Regions from separate parts of the Homo sapiens genome. Here regions 2, 3, 4 and 5 are each linked to region 1. The links are contacts of gene promoters, found by promoter capture Hi-C in blood cells and fetal thymus (Javierre and others, 2016). All regions are on one chromosome and are shown on one strand. Each heading gives the region's core, a stretch centred on a gene start or on the middle of the fragment in contact. The rest is flanking DNA. Distances are from core to core; before and after follow the strand shown.

Evidence for each region. The method cuts DNA at HindIII sites, captures the fragments that hold promoters and counts their contacts. A CHiCAGO score of 5 or more calls a contact.
Region 2: a fragment that was not itself captured here is called in contact with the fragment with the promoter of PTBP2 in region 1 in 4 of 17 cell types (endothelial precursors, M2 macrophages, M1 macrophages and 1 more); the score reaches 12.2 in endothelial precursors.
Region 3: a contact is called between a fragment that was not itself captured here and the fragment with the promoter of PTBP2 in region 1, in 1 of 17 cell types (endothelial precursors). The highest score is 5.7, in endothelial precursors.
Region 4: a fragment that was not itself captured here is called in contact with the fragment with the promoter of PTBP2 in region 1 in 2 of 17 cell types (M1 macrophages and M2 macrophages); the score reaches 5.9 in M1 macrophages.
Region 5: a contact is called between a fragment that was not itself captured here and the fragment with the promoter of PTBP2 in region 1, in 1 of 17 cell types (M2 macrophages). The highest score is 5.1, in M2 macrophages.

The regions. Positions count from the first base shown.
Region 1 is chr1:96,720,472-96,723,171 of GRCh38, forward strand. It overlaps PTBP2 (polypyrimidine tract binding protein 2), which reads left to right and starts at 1,313. Exons shown (of 14, transcript NM_021190.4): 1 at 1,313-1,401. The coding sequence starts at 1,394. RefSeq lists silencers at 1,079-1,278, 1,509-1,788. The HindIII fragment of the contact is 2,234 bases long and covers 1-1,374 here.
Region 2 is chr1:96,234,981-96,237,680 of GRCh38, forward strand. No RefSeq gene overlaps it. Among named protein-coding and RNA genes, the nearest start is that of LINC01787, 140 kb to the right of the region's middle. The HindIII fragment of the contact is 1,656 bases long and covers 444-2,099 here.
Region 3 is chr1:96,217,499-96,220,198 of GRCh38, forward strand. No RefSeq gene overlaps it. Among named protein-coding and RNA genes, the nearest start is that of LINC01787, 160 kb to the right of the region's middle. The HindIII fragment of the contact is 2,524 bases long and covers 38-2,561 here.
Region 4 is chr1:96,356,877-96,359,576 of GRCh38, forward strand. The region is part of intron 1 of LINC01787 (long intergenic non-protein coding RNA 1787); the gene reads right to left. Among named protein-coding and RNA genes, the nearest start is that of LINC01787, 16 kb to the right of the region's middle. The HindIII fragment of the contact is 155 bases long and covers 1,284-1,438 here.
Region 5 is chr1:96,315,871-96,318,570 of GRCh38, forward strand. All of the region lies in intron 3 of LINC01787 (long intergenic non-protein coding RNA 1787), which reads right to left. Among named protein-coding and RNA genes, the nearest start is that of LINC01787, 57 kb to the right of the region's middle. The HindIII fragment of the contact is 7,163 bases long and covers 1-2,700 here.

The DNA.
Region 1 (2,700 bases), core at 63-2,562:
GGCGCGTGCCTGTAATCCCAGCTACTCGGGAGGCTGAGGCAGGAGAATCGCTTGAACCAGGGAGGCCGAGGTTGCAGTGAGCCGAGATTGCGCCATTGCACTTCAGCCTGGGCAACAAGAGCGAGACTGGGTCTCAAAAAAAAAAATTCTAAAAATTATACACAATATCATTTAGTATATGAAATTCCAATTAGCAAAGGATAAGAGCTTTGCCTGAAGGAGACACAGAAAAACCCAGAGTGAGTATTGAGAGTAACTGGAGGGACACAGGGAGTATTTGTCATTTTTCAGAATTAGAAGTGCATTTGTCCTTGTGTGTGTTGGGGGTGGAGGTGAAGGGTGCAGGAGAAGGATGGGTACTGGCAAAGTCGCTACTCACTGAGCAAATTTTCAAGCGGGTGCCTTTCCCAATTTTGTTGAGCCTCTGATAAAAACACGTTGAAGTAAAATGTCCACTATAGTATCAAGTAAAAATTGAGACCGTAAGATATAGCAAAGGGAGTCAATTTGCATAGCCCATTTTAATGCTTCTACTTTCTCTAACCAATCTGAAGACTCAGTTGTTCCCACTCCCATCTCCACTTTCCCTTTCATGCCTCCAAATGTTAAACTCCAACTATTGTAGCATTTTAACACATGGCTCCATTTGTGTCTATTTCCACCTAGCGTATTGTGAATATTTTCTACAGGCGCACACTAATCACCAACTGAAGTGAGAATCACATTTTCCTCCACTTGGCTTGGTACTACAGGTCTTGAAGCAAAAGCCTGTATTTCAGTCTGAGGAGTTCTACTTGCTTGAGAAAGTACTGTTGTTACCAAGTGGTCTCGTTCAGTGGGGTAAAGATTTTTGTTTTAGAGGCTGGAGCCGGTCTGCAAATAAAAGATGGCTTAGGAGAAAAGCTATCCAATGTTTTTTCCTTGGCCCGCATAGGTTGACGGTAGCCAAGCTGGTACTTGGCTTGGAGTGAAAAGTGGAGGCTGCCTGGGGGCGTCCTGCAGTCAGGGCAGAGAGAGTGTGGAGAGCTGTTGGGAGGTGTCCCACCCACGCCCCCACAAGGAGGGGAAACCAGGTCGCCGCGGTCTGCAGCAGAACGCCAGGTTCCAGAGGACGGCAGGCGGAGGGCGGAGGGAGAAAGGCGCGCGAAGGCGCGGAGGAGGCGTCGGCTGCGGCGCCCACTCCCCCTAGTCCCAGCGCCCTGCCGCTCGCCTCCCGCTGCCGGGCGCCGGCGCGCTCGGCTCTTTCCGCCGCCGCCGCTGCCGCGCGGTGGCCCGTGCGCCTCGGCACCTTCGGCAATTTCCGTCGGGCCCCAGCCGCCATTTTCTCGCCGCTTGTGTGGCTCGCTGGCTGCGTGGCTCGGTTCTTGTGAGCGAAGCTTTGTCCGGTTCGGCAATGGACGGGTATGTAATCGGGCCGGCGAGAAGGTGTGTGTGAGAGAGGAGTTGGACCGTCCTTCGGCCCGGTCCCGGGCCGGGGAGAAACCCTCCCGCGGCCCCTCCCAGGGCTGGGCTGCCGTTACCCAACCCCCGCCCCATCGCACACACCCCTCCCTTTGCTTCCCCCGGCGGGCTTTGGTCGAGAAAATGAGAAGAAAGCGGGCTTGGAGGCTGGGGAGGCATAGGGGCGATGGCGGGGGTGAGGATCCCGGAGTGGGAGCGGGCACCGGCTTGGCGGCGGGGGATGGGGTGGGAACCCCATAACGTCTCCCCGGTCTGTCCCTGCCCCCTCTAGGAGCCATTTCGATCCGTACCTTGGGACCCGACCCTTGGGTTAGCGGTGCCTGTGAGAGCGAGTGGGATGGGCAGAGACAGGCCTTTGGATTGGGGGAGCCTCTAGGGGAAGAGGAGAGAGGCACCCCATGTGGACCCCAGCCATGAGCAACCTCTCCGGCCTCGCCCGGCCCTCCGTGGTCGGGAGAGATGCCGGTGGCGGGAGCTCCGGGGAAAGCCTAGTGGGAGCCGCTGGGGAAGGGGGGAGGGCGTGCGGCGGCGGGAGGAAGGGGGAGGGCAGATGTCATACTCCTTTGTTTTCATTTGAGTCTGGTAGTGGGGGCGGGAGGGAGGAAAAAATGCCTTTTTGTGGGGACTGAAAACATTCAAGGCTTGGCAAAAGGGCCCAGAAATTAAATCATCTAAAAAACGAAGTGTTTGAAGCCGACATCAGTCACATGGGCAAAGGCCAACAGCAATGGCAGAAACAAGAGCAGATAGTCAACAAAGGGCTATCTCTTTAGCTACTTTGGTCAGTTTCTGGAAAAACGACTATAAAAACCCAGAACCATGCTGCATCTTTGCGAACCTGAGTCAAGACGGAATGCTGAGTGAGGTGAGAGGCAAGACTGTGAAATGGTAGGGACCGATGTCTCGCTCATATGCTTCACACCTGAAAAGACTCAGTAATTTAACTCAATGTTAGAAAGGGGGCACGCTTAAGGTCAAAAATACAGCAGTATGCAGCTCTTTTGGGAGTGTAAACATAGTATCATTTAACAAGTACATTTATTAAAATCAGTGAGTATTTGAAGAATCAACAATTTGGTTAAGCGCCTAGAGTTTGGTGTGTTTTAAAAGGTACTAAAAACAAGATTTTATAAAAGTTAACACAGTCTCACAGAATTCAAATCATCCTAGATGTTACCTAAAGATTATTTTCCAGATGAAACAAATCCAGAGAAGTTCAGTATTCCCCCCAGATCAACA
Region 2 (2,700 bases), core at 22-2,521, 490 kb before region 1:
CATGTGATAGCCTCTATTCTTTTCCTCTCTAGTTTTCTCTCATCCTTAAGAAATAGTTTGCCTCCCATGGAAACCCCTCCCAGGCCTTCAAATTGTGCAAGTGGGCCTTAGGAAAGTTGTGTTCCAAAAGCCCCTCATTGTGACACACTTATCACTAAGTCATAGCAAACCCTTTTTTCTTCTGATAAGTTACACACAGATGCCCCAGTCCAGAGGGTCTGTTCAAGTATCCAGGGGCCTCCCTGTCCCTTTGCCCTGTGGCTTGAAATGGTTTGAGTTTGTCTTCAGATGTTGGTCAGATTTATTTTCTTCTTTTTCTTGACGACACGGAACAATCACCCGAGATAACCTGCTTTCTTTTCAGACCTTTTTCCTTGATATTTCTTTTCTTGGAGTCATCTCCTTTCAGTAAAGTTGAAGGTATATCCTCACATTATATTAAAAGCTTCAAAACTGTAAATCTGCGAGGCTTCAAGAATGTACTCTCTTCATTTAAACGTACTCCTTTCTGATCAGAAAGATCAATAACTTCCACAGCATGTTTTTGCTAAGAATGAGTATGTTTAAGGCTCTTATCTCCTTGACTCGAATAAATTACTAAAAGTACTCATTCTAGTTACTTTGAAATACCATAGAAACATTTGTGGCATTAACACAGTGTATTACAGCTTTTGAAGTTTTATTACTTTTCGGTTCTTTTTTATTATATATTTAAACTGTAATCCCCTTTCTTTTCTTGAGATGATTGTGTTTGCCAAAGACCTGTATGGAAGAAGTTTGCCTTTCTTTAGAAGCATTTTCCTCCCACAGACTCATTCCTTCTGAGGTTGTTATGAATTTTTAATCACAGAAGATGTTACTACTATTATTTTCTAATTCTGAGAGTCACCCCTATGCTTTGACACCACTGGAGCACCTGCAAGGCACCAAATCCAGCATGCTGCCTAGGTAGCAGGTGGGAGGTCTTGATAGAAATGCTTAATTGAGATTTGACCATGACCCACTTTCTAGTGATAAGCAATATTTGAGTATGTGACAACTATACAGTGTCCTAAGATAGGCTGTAGGTTGCTTTTAGCTGGTATTTGCATAGCACTCCTTCTGGCTTTAATACATTACATTGTGCTTTTAGCCACCAAGGAAATGGGAGGGTACTGGCCATCAGCAGTGATGTGCTTAATGTGTCGTGCACAACTTGTGAATAGAGAATGACCCTGAGAATGAAAAGAGGCTGAATCTTAGCGATAAATTCACATAGGAATTTTTGCCTCAGAAATGAACTGGAGATAATCAACAGCAAGAAAGTCCTTGAAATTCAAGAGATCTAAAGAAGCTGAAAATTAATCAGCTGCCACAAGGTGGCGAAATCACATTGATGTCCTTCTTACTGCTCTATTTCCTCATAGAAACCTTTTAATGTCAACTATCTGAGGACAAAGGTGTCATTTCTACATTTAAATAAAAACCACTTATCACCAAGATTTACAAACCATTTCAGTGCATTCAGACAGCTTTCTGGGTATACTGGATAGTGTGTGAATAAGTAAGGTGACACTGCCAAATATAAAAAGCTAAAAGTACATTTTGTTTTCTCATAGCTACGTGTGAGAACCTGTGTTCTCCCCATATTTGATGTCCATTTGCTAAAGATTAAGAACAGAAAGAATTTAGGATATATTTTAGAGCATGTTGCAGAAATTCTGTGAAGTGCAGTTTGCTTTAGCTATAAGGTGGGTACATGAACAAAGATGCACATGCTTTTGTAAACATTTCAAGTGCCATCACAGAGAAAAAGGGCAGTGTCAGGATGCAGTGGCCCTGTATCCTGGGCTGCTGCTCACCAAAGCATGAACTCTGCTCTTATTGGTGTTTTCAAATCCCAACACATCCTTTTATATTTTTAGGGATTTTATTGAACACCAGCTGCCTCTTATTTTAACATATTTGATAACAATACTTCAAACTACTGTTGTGGTGATAAAATGAGTGAATTCATATAAACATAGCTGCTACTAGCCAGAAGCACATTTGGAGATTAGACAAAGATGCCTCTCAGGGTGCACACCTCCCTTCTCTAGGAGACAGAACATGGCAAGCAAAGCTTCCGCTAGATCTCAGCTCACGTGACCCTTTCCTGGCCATCCTGTTGCAGGGATCACTCTGTGCAATCGTATGTCCAGGGTCTGCATGTAAAGTACTTAAAATAATGCCTGGCACAAAGAAGATGAACCCTCTAAAAATCATCATCATCTTCATCATCATCATCATCATCACCAGCACATCCCTAGTGGCCTTGTCATTGTAGCCTTACTATGTCTAGTTTATTCTACAGGTGTGTGAGAAATATATCTATAGATATGGTAGCAGGGAGATACAATGCAGATTAAATAACTTTATAAACAAATATGCTGACCTGATGGTGAAAAGCACAATAAAAAATTATGAGTCAGAGTGGTGTGAAATCAAGACCGTAAAAAAAATAGAGAAGGTGTAAAGGGTAAGACCTTTTTACAATGGTAGATCCCCAGCCAACCCCCATTGTAACCCTCCCTTCCACCCTATCCCTACCTAGCCCAAGGCTTACTACAACTGGTACTAGGACTCAGCTACACATTTAAAGTAGGTCTTTTGCTTTATTTAGTGCTTTTTCAGACACCATTTCTGGGACCCAGTAGTACCACATGACTTCCTGGGTGATCA
Region 3 (2,700 bases), core at 50-2,549, 500 kb before region 1:
GGCACTTATTACACATGAATGCTAAATCGCCATCCAAAGCTTAGGCCACACTGAGGCCGTTTAGATAGGGTCTCAGAGCCTCATTGTTTCCTATATTTCTGCTCTATTATCTTACAAGTAAGTGTCTGGGTTCCATCTTTAACAGGAAGACAGAAAATGGCAACCTAGAAGATAGAACCCTGATGGAGAGGTGACTTGTGAATAAATATCCCTGAATAAATATTGGTCTCGGCCAATAGTTTCTACATTGCTGGAAGGTTCCTCCCAAAACTGCCTTAGCCAAGGGTTCATTGGTCAGCTTGAGCATGTGATACAATGATTTATTTAATTGAAAGCAAGCAGAAACAGATGGGGACATCAGCTGCTACTGCACATTGGTTGCTACCACTGGAAAAATTGGTTGCTGTAACAAGCACACATGGGGAAAGAACAAAGTGTTGAGATTATCACAAATGGGATTATAAAGGTTAATACATGTGTATAGTTATTACTTTTCAAGCTATCACTAAGATTCATCTTTGAACTGGAAATCAGGATAAACATCTTAGAAATTTGAAATGGCAAGTGTGAAGTTTCTGTATTTACCTATTTGCATGTATGTGTGCTCTTGCATTAAGCCTCTTAGTTTACTGCAATATGCATTTCAACTGAAAAATAAACTCATAGAAGCAGGAAGCTCGTTTAAAATTTTTTTGGCTACAAATCCTCCTCTCCCCACCACTTCTACCCATCTTTTGTGTCTAAAGCATTAACTGGACCCAGGAATTGTTCAATGAATATTTACTTATTGGTGGATTTATGACATAAATATTTTAGTAAGAATCCTCAGATGGTGATATGCAAAGTGAGTTGGGTAGTAGATGGAGAAAAGACTAAATATGGCAAAACACATTTGTCTCAGCTTACTAGTCTGTAGACATACTGATAAGGATCTCTACAGTCCGATGGCAATGGAGCTGAAAAGAAATAATTGTTTTTCAAAAAGACAATGAATAAAAGGAATAATGGGATTTAGAAATTGTTTGGCTATTGTGTGTTCAGAAAAAAAATTAGTAAAAGGCAATGTGAATTTTTAAACTAGGAGAATAATAGAGTTAGGGAAAACTAGAGGGAGATTTGAAGGAAGAATAAGTTTTAGGAGATTCAGAAATATTTAAGTGGAAATACCTAATCATATTTTATTATTATGACATAACATTTTCCAAAAGAAAGTGCCAAGATGCTTTAAAATGGATCTCAAGATGAACATGCCTACTGCTAAATAAAAGCTGATGTCTGGAAAATTATTATCTGAGATGATAATGCCATAAGATTTGATTCTTAAAAATTTGAAGCAAATTTTAACTAGACTATTACCATGCTTTAAATTACGTATATGAATGGGGCTGGAAAACATTCAATGAAAAACTTCAGTAAACTGCCATACTAAATAGACCTATACTTTGATATAGAAAAGAGAATCTGGATTTGGATTTCAAAGATTTGGATTCTTATCTCACCACTGCCACTAACTAGCTATGTAATGTTGGATAAGTCAGATACGCTGACTAGACTCAGTGGCCACCAGTAAAAAGACAATGTTTGTATAGATGTTCTCCAAGATGCCTTCCAGCTCTGAAATTCTCAGATTCTACTCTCTGTATGGACTTGCAGACTTGACTTTCAAAGATGCTGTTCTGTGTTTTCACTTAATACAAGGCTAGTGATTCTGTTTGACACCCAGAGGTCTTATGGAACTAGGACTCAATTCATAAGAATGAACACATTTGATGAGATGATGCAGTAATTGTGTTTTTTGTTTTGTTTTGTCTACAGTAATTCACAATGGCTACCTCAATTTAACCAGTCCCTCGTGGTTATAGTAATCGATGATTTTGCAATATTTTTTGATTCTTTACTTACATATATTATAAGAATGTATCTTGGTATGAAAGTTTTGTCACCAATGGAACACTTGGCAATCTCGGGAGACACTTTCTGTTGTCACATCTACTAGGGTGGTATTACTGGCATTTTGTGGTCAGAGATCTGAAATGCTGTTAAACATTCTTCAATGCACAGGACAATTCCTCTCTCTTCTAACAAAGAATTCTCCGCTCAAGATATCAATAGTGTCGAGTTTGAAAAACAATTTTCCTTCCTCACCTTTCTTAAGTCCATAACAAATTAGCCTTAAAAACACCATACAATATAGCCATTTCATTACTGTCCTGCTCACTTAGTCTTCTCACATGTCCATCCTTGCAAAGTTGAATGGAGGGCACATGACCCTAGTTCTCCTGATTTCTGTGGGGAGAGGGGAGGAAAAAATGAGAACTGACTCTGCAGGATGACCTTAGAGTTGGATCTAAACTCACAAACTAAGTGATTAAGTTTTCAAAAGGAATTCAGAGTCAGTAAAACAACAGGCTTTATTTTTTCTCCCTACTGTATTTTTCACGTTTGAGCAGGCAATTTTGGTGAATAGAAACTAAGACTTACAGGGGAAGCTAATGAGTTTATTCAGGAAGCACAATGTGAAATTAGTGACACAGTTTTGAAAAATTAACTCTCTCAGACAAAGCTTGTAAAAATTGATTAACAAGCTAGTAGTGGCTATTGACAGGACATGCTTTCACATCTTTTAGAAAACAACTTTCAATTATTATGAAAGTATATACGTATTTGGAATTAACACACATTTATGTACTTAAGTGTTCT
Region 4 (2,700 bases), core at 111-2,610, 360 kb before region 1:
GCCCAGACTTGATATAGAACCCAGTCAATAATAATGTCTTTTTTGGATTTACACAGAAAAACTGGATACTATGTTTACTATGTTTAGTACTTTTTTATTTTTGTATCAATAAGTACCTTGTAGCAGAGGCACAGAAAGAGGGGCAGCTATTTATCAGAGCCAACATCTGCCCCCTCCTTGTTCCCCACCACAGTCTAGGTTTGTGGGAAGATGGTTACCTGAGTTGGCACACAAAATTGAAAATAAGGAGTAAAGAGGAAGGAAACAGAATAAATGTTGATAGTAGCATTTTCCCATCCCCAGATATCTTTTCCTTATTTTCTGTCTCTGTATGACAAAGGCATTAGAAAGAAGGAAATGTACCTTCCCTAAGGAAGGTAGGGGATTTATGAAATTGTAATTATTTCTGGTCAACTGATAGAGTTTCTGGTAAAAAAAAAAAATGAAAGAGATGACTCATATGACTTATGGTCTTTACGTTCTGTGATACTTGAGTCACTGAAGTAGAACTGAATGAATTGATCCATATTAGAAATGGAGTCTTTCCTGGAAAATTCAGCTATATGACTCCTTTACCTCTGACCTGTATCTGAAATTGAAAACTTACCACTTCTGTCTTCGACCTCTCTTTTCTTGCTGGAAAATATGCTAAACAAATAATTACATCATGGTAACAATAGGCCAGGAAATTTCCAAGCATTTGGCAAATTGTAAATCAGTAACTGGTAGAATGGCTGATACTAAAGTTTTCCAGAGTCTCCAGGATAGTCTATCCTTTAACTCTGTAAGCAAATAGCTTTTCCTTTTCAGACTCCACAATTTCCACAGTAAAACTGAAATTCTAAGAAAAGCAAGGTAACATTTTTTCTGTAATCTTATAGATGTTATTTTTTTTGTTTGTTCTCTCAAGAAAAATTTAACCCCTATTAGACATATGTTGAAATTGTAGATTTCCCACTTCCTATCCCACTCATCTCGGAAGTGTGCCAATTCTCAGATGATACAAAAATTTTATACCGCTGGAAGTCTTCACTTTAAAGAGATTCAAATGTTCTTTATTATTTTATGGCCTTAACTTGAAAATACAATGCAATAGAAAAAAATAGCAGCTACCAAACATTGAAAATAATTATTTTTCTGTTAGGAATTGTTTTTGCACTAAAAACAAATAAGTGTAAAGAGAGATTGGGATTAATCCCCCAGGCTATTTTTAGCTACAGGTAACATAAAACTCCAACTAAAGTCATTTAAATTGCCGAAAATTAATTATATCCCATAACAAAAGCTTGACAGCAGGAAATTCTGGACTTAATTCAGCAACTTAACAATGTCCGATTTCTCTATGATTTTCTCTTGGTTTTCACTCATGGTCACAAGATGGCTCCAATGGCTCCAACTATCACTTCCATACACACAACATGTAAAGATAAAAAGCACAAGCTTTTATTAGGTGTCTCTTTTTAAGGGTAAAGAAAACCTTCTGAGGTACTCCCAGGAACCCTCTTTCTTTTATTTAACTGACCGCAGTGCAGCACATGACCATCTTTTGCTGACATGGGAATAAAATGATTATGATTGGCCTCAACATTTATTCCTCTAGTTTTGAGAGTGATCCAGGAAGCACTTAAGAACCCAATACTTGAATAAAATAAAGATTTTATTAAGAGGCCGGGCGTGGTGGCTCATGTCTGTGATCCCAGCACTTTGCGAGGCCGAGGTGGGTAGATCACCTGGGGTCAGGAGTTTGAGACCAGCCTGGCCAACATGGTGTAACCCTGTCTCTACTAAAAATACAAAAATTTGCTGGACGTGGTGATACGTGCCTGTAATCCCATCTACTCAAGAGGCTGAGGCAGGATAATTGCTTGAACTCGGGAGATGGAGGTTGCAATGAACCAAGATCACGCCACTGCACTCCAGCCTGGGTGACAGAGCGACACTCCATCTCGGGAAAAAAAAATATATATATATATTAAGAATAATGAGGATGGGAGCTATTTACCAAAGGAGGAAAACAACAAAGGATGGGGTAATACTCTAGAGCTGGTAACCACAGGAGGTGTCACCACATCTAAGGCATGAAGAGGCAGGAAAAGAAGAGAAAAGACCATGAAGCATGGGCCATCCAGCAAAAGCTGTAGCCTGCCACAGAGTGAGGCAGCCACATGTGACTCCACAGGGAGCAGCCAGGAGAATGAATTCCTCAACCTAACTGTACTCCCTGTCTCTCATCCCCCCTATAGACAGAGCCTAACCAGAAGCCAGAGAACATGGGAACTCAATGATGCATCCTGTATGTCAGCCTCCTGGGCGCAGAGCAGGATTGTAAAGCTTGAGGAAGCTGGAAGATGGCTCAGGAGAGACAGCAGCTCTCCATCACATTCATAGAGCACTTACCTCATGCTAGGAAGTATGATAAGTGATCTATATGCATAAAACAGGGATTTCACATGACAACTTCAACTGGGTAAATATGCTTTTCACCACGCCCCCAGGAAAGAAATAGCAACATTGTTTTTAAAGATCCTTTGAGGAGAAATTGCTTGGGAAATGCCAAGGCTGAGTGGAGAAAGTTTGTAAGCAGCGAGGCCAAATATTCTGAACCTGAAAGACGGGGAGATACCCCAAACCTGGGAAGGGGTGGGGGTTTTGACTGGTTTTGCAGGTAGTGAAGATCCACACCTAATTCAGTTTCTGCTC
Region 5 (2,700 bases), core at 149-2,648, 400 kb before region 1:
AAATAGTGTCCCTCCACTAATTAATTCATTTATTATCAAACATTACGATTCTACTATATGCAAGGACGATCTATATAATACACACTAACTTCAGTGTATTCCATATTGTTGGGTTATTGAGTCTGAGGGATTAGCAGATTTATTTGTAAAGGACTAGGCAGTAAATATTTTAGACATTGGGGGCCACATATATATCTCTTGCTGCTGCTTTTTAAAATTTATATTATTTTTAACTGCCAAACCATAATATATTACATTTATGGAGCACAATGTGATATTTTGGCATGTATATGTAATGTGGAATGATTAAATCAAGCTAATTAATATATTCATCACCTACTTGTTTAACATTTTTTGTGATGACACATTTGATATTTACTCATGTATTTTGAAATATATAATACATTACTATTAACTATGGTCACCCTGTGTGACCAAAACTTAAAACATTCCTCTTGTCTAGCTGAAACTTTGTCCCTTTGACCAGCAGTCCTCAAACCCATCTTGCCTTCCCACCCACCTCCCCACCCCCACACCAGGCTTCTGGTAACCATCATTCTACTCTCTATTTCTGTGAATTCAACTTTTTTGAGATTCCATATATAAGTGAGATCATCCAGTACAGCAGTCCGCCCTTATGCATAAAAGATATGTTTCAAGGCCCCCAGTTGATGCTTGAAACTGCAGATAGTGCTGAACCTTATGTGTACTAAGTTATTTAGGTCTAGTAACCAAAATGGCTACTAAGTGACTAACGGGCAAGTAGTGTATACAAAGTTAATTTGCTGGACAAAAGGATGGTTGATATCCCAGGTGGAATGAAGCAGGAAGACAAGAGATTTCATCATGTTACCCAGAATGGCATGCAATTTACAAATTATCAACTGTTTATTTCTGAAATTTTTCATTTAATATTTTTAGACCATGGTTGAGCCTAGATAACTGAAATTTTGAAAAGCAAAACTGGAGATAAGTGGAAAGTACATATTTGTCTTTCTGTGCCTGGTTTGTTCCAAATGACATGATTTTGTTCTTTTTTTAAAGGCTAAATAGTGTTCCATAGTGTATATATATTTTTTAAATATTTTCTTTCTTCATCAGTTAGATGGACATTTAAGTTAATTCCATATCTTGCCTATTGTAAATAATGTTGCAATGTACATGAAAATTTACACATCCCTTCAACATATCTATTTCAATTCTTTGGATATATTCCCAGAAGTGAGATTGCTGGATCATATGGTAGTTCTACCCCCATATCGTTTTCCATAATGGCTGTACTACTTTACATCCCCACTAGTAGTATATAAGGATCCCCTTTTCTCCACATCATTGCCAACACTTATTATATTTCATTTTTTAATAAAATCCATTCTAACAGGTGCAGATGATATTTTGTTGTGGTTTTAATTTGCATTTTCCTAATAATTAGGAATACTGAGCATTTTTTAATTAATCTATTGGTCATTTGTATGTCTTCTTTTAAGAAACGTCTGTTCAGGTCCTGTGCTCATTTTTTAAGCGAGTTGCTTTCTTGTTCTTGAGTTATTAAAATTCCTTATATATTTTGGATATTAGCTCCTTATCAGCTGTATGGTTTGCAAATATTTTTTGTAATCTGTGGGTTTCTTCTTCTTCTCAATCCTTTAGAGATTTAAAAATTATTCATAGCTCATGAGCAATACAAAAACAGGCCTTGAGTTGGATTTGGCCAGCAAGACATAGTTTGACAATTCCTGGTCTTGAAGAATGTGTTTATCAGAATAGTACAAATTGAGCTCTAACACTCTCACTCTTATCCTCTTTAGAGTCTCTGCCACCATGAGAGAAATATAAAATTCATGTTTTTTTCATCATCAGGTTTCTGCCTAGGTTTGTAGATGGTAAGTGATTAAACATGGGTACACACGTATTTATGTTTAGAAACCATTTCTCTAGTGATACATAATCTCCATGGATGCAATTTCACTCAAACTGAAGACCACTTCAGTATTATCATGCAAAGCACTTTTTTCACCATGGGGTTAAACCTCTGTAACAAAACATAGGATTGCAATTTTCTCTGCAGAAATAGTCTGTTAAGGTGATCTTTCATATCAAAGGAGTAGTGTGCTTTAAAATATAATTCTTAAGGAATAAAACTGCAGTTTAAAAATGTTAATGCTAATTTCTGGATTCTGTTATCCACGATTTCAAAACAGTCTTGGGTACAGGCTTAGAAAATATAAATACAGTAACATACATACAGTGAGTCCCACACATGTTGTGAGAAAGAATAAATTGGATTCAATTTTATTTATGGTTTTTGGAATCAATACCATTTGTTCAGGGTTATATCTAATATGTGTATATATACATATACTACATTATAGTGAAATTAGTAATGCTAAGTGACTGTTAGTTATAATACATAGTCATATGTAATAGATACCCAAAATAAAATGGGTTAAATAAGATAAACATCTATTACTTTCTCACTTAAAAGTCTTGATGTAAATATTTCACCATTGGTATGGCAGCTCAATAGTCATATTGGACTCAGGCAACATTTGTGCTTCTGCTCTTCTATCTCTAGGACAGGTCTGACACAATAAATGGAATAAATAAACATCTTATTAAAGGCTATTAGGATGGAGTGACATCAGCAAGATGGAGAGGAAAGACTTTCTAGCACTCATCCCCTTGCAGAAACATAAATTC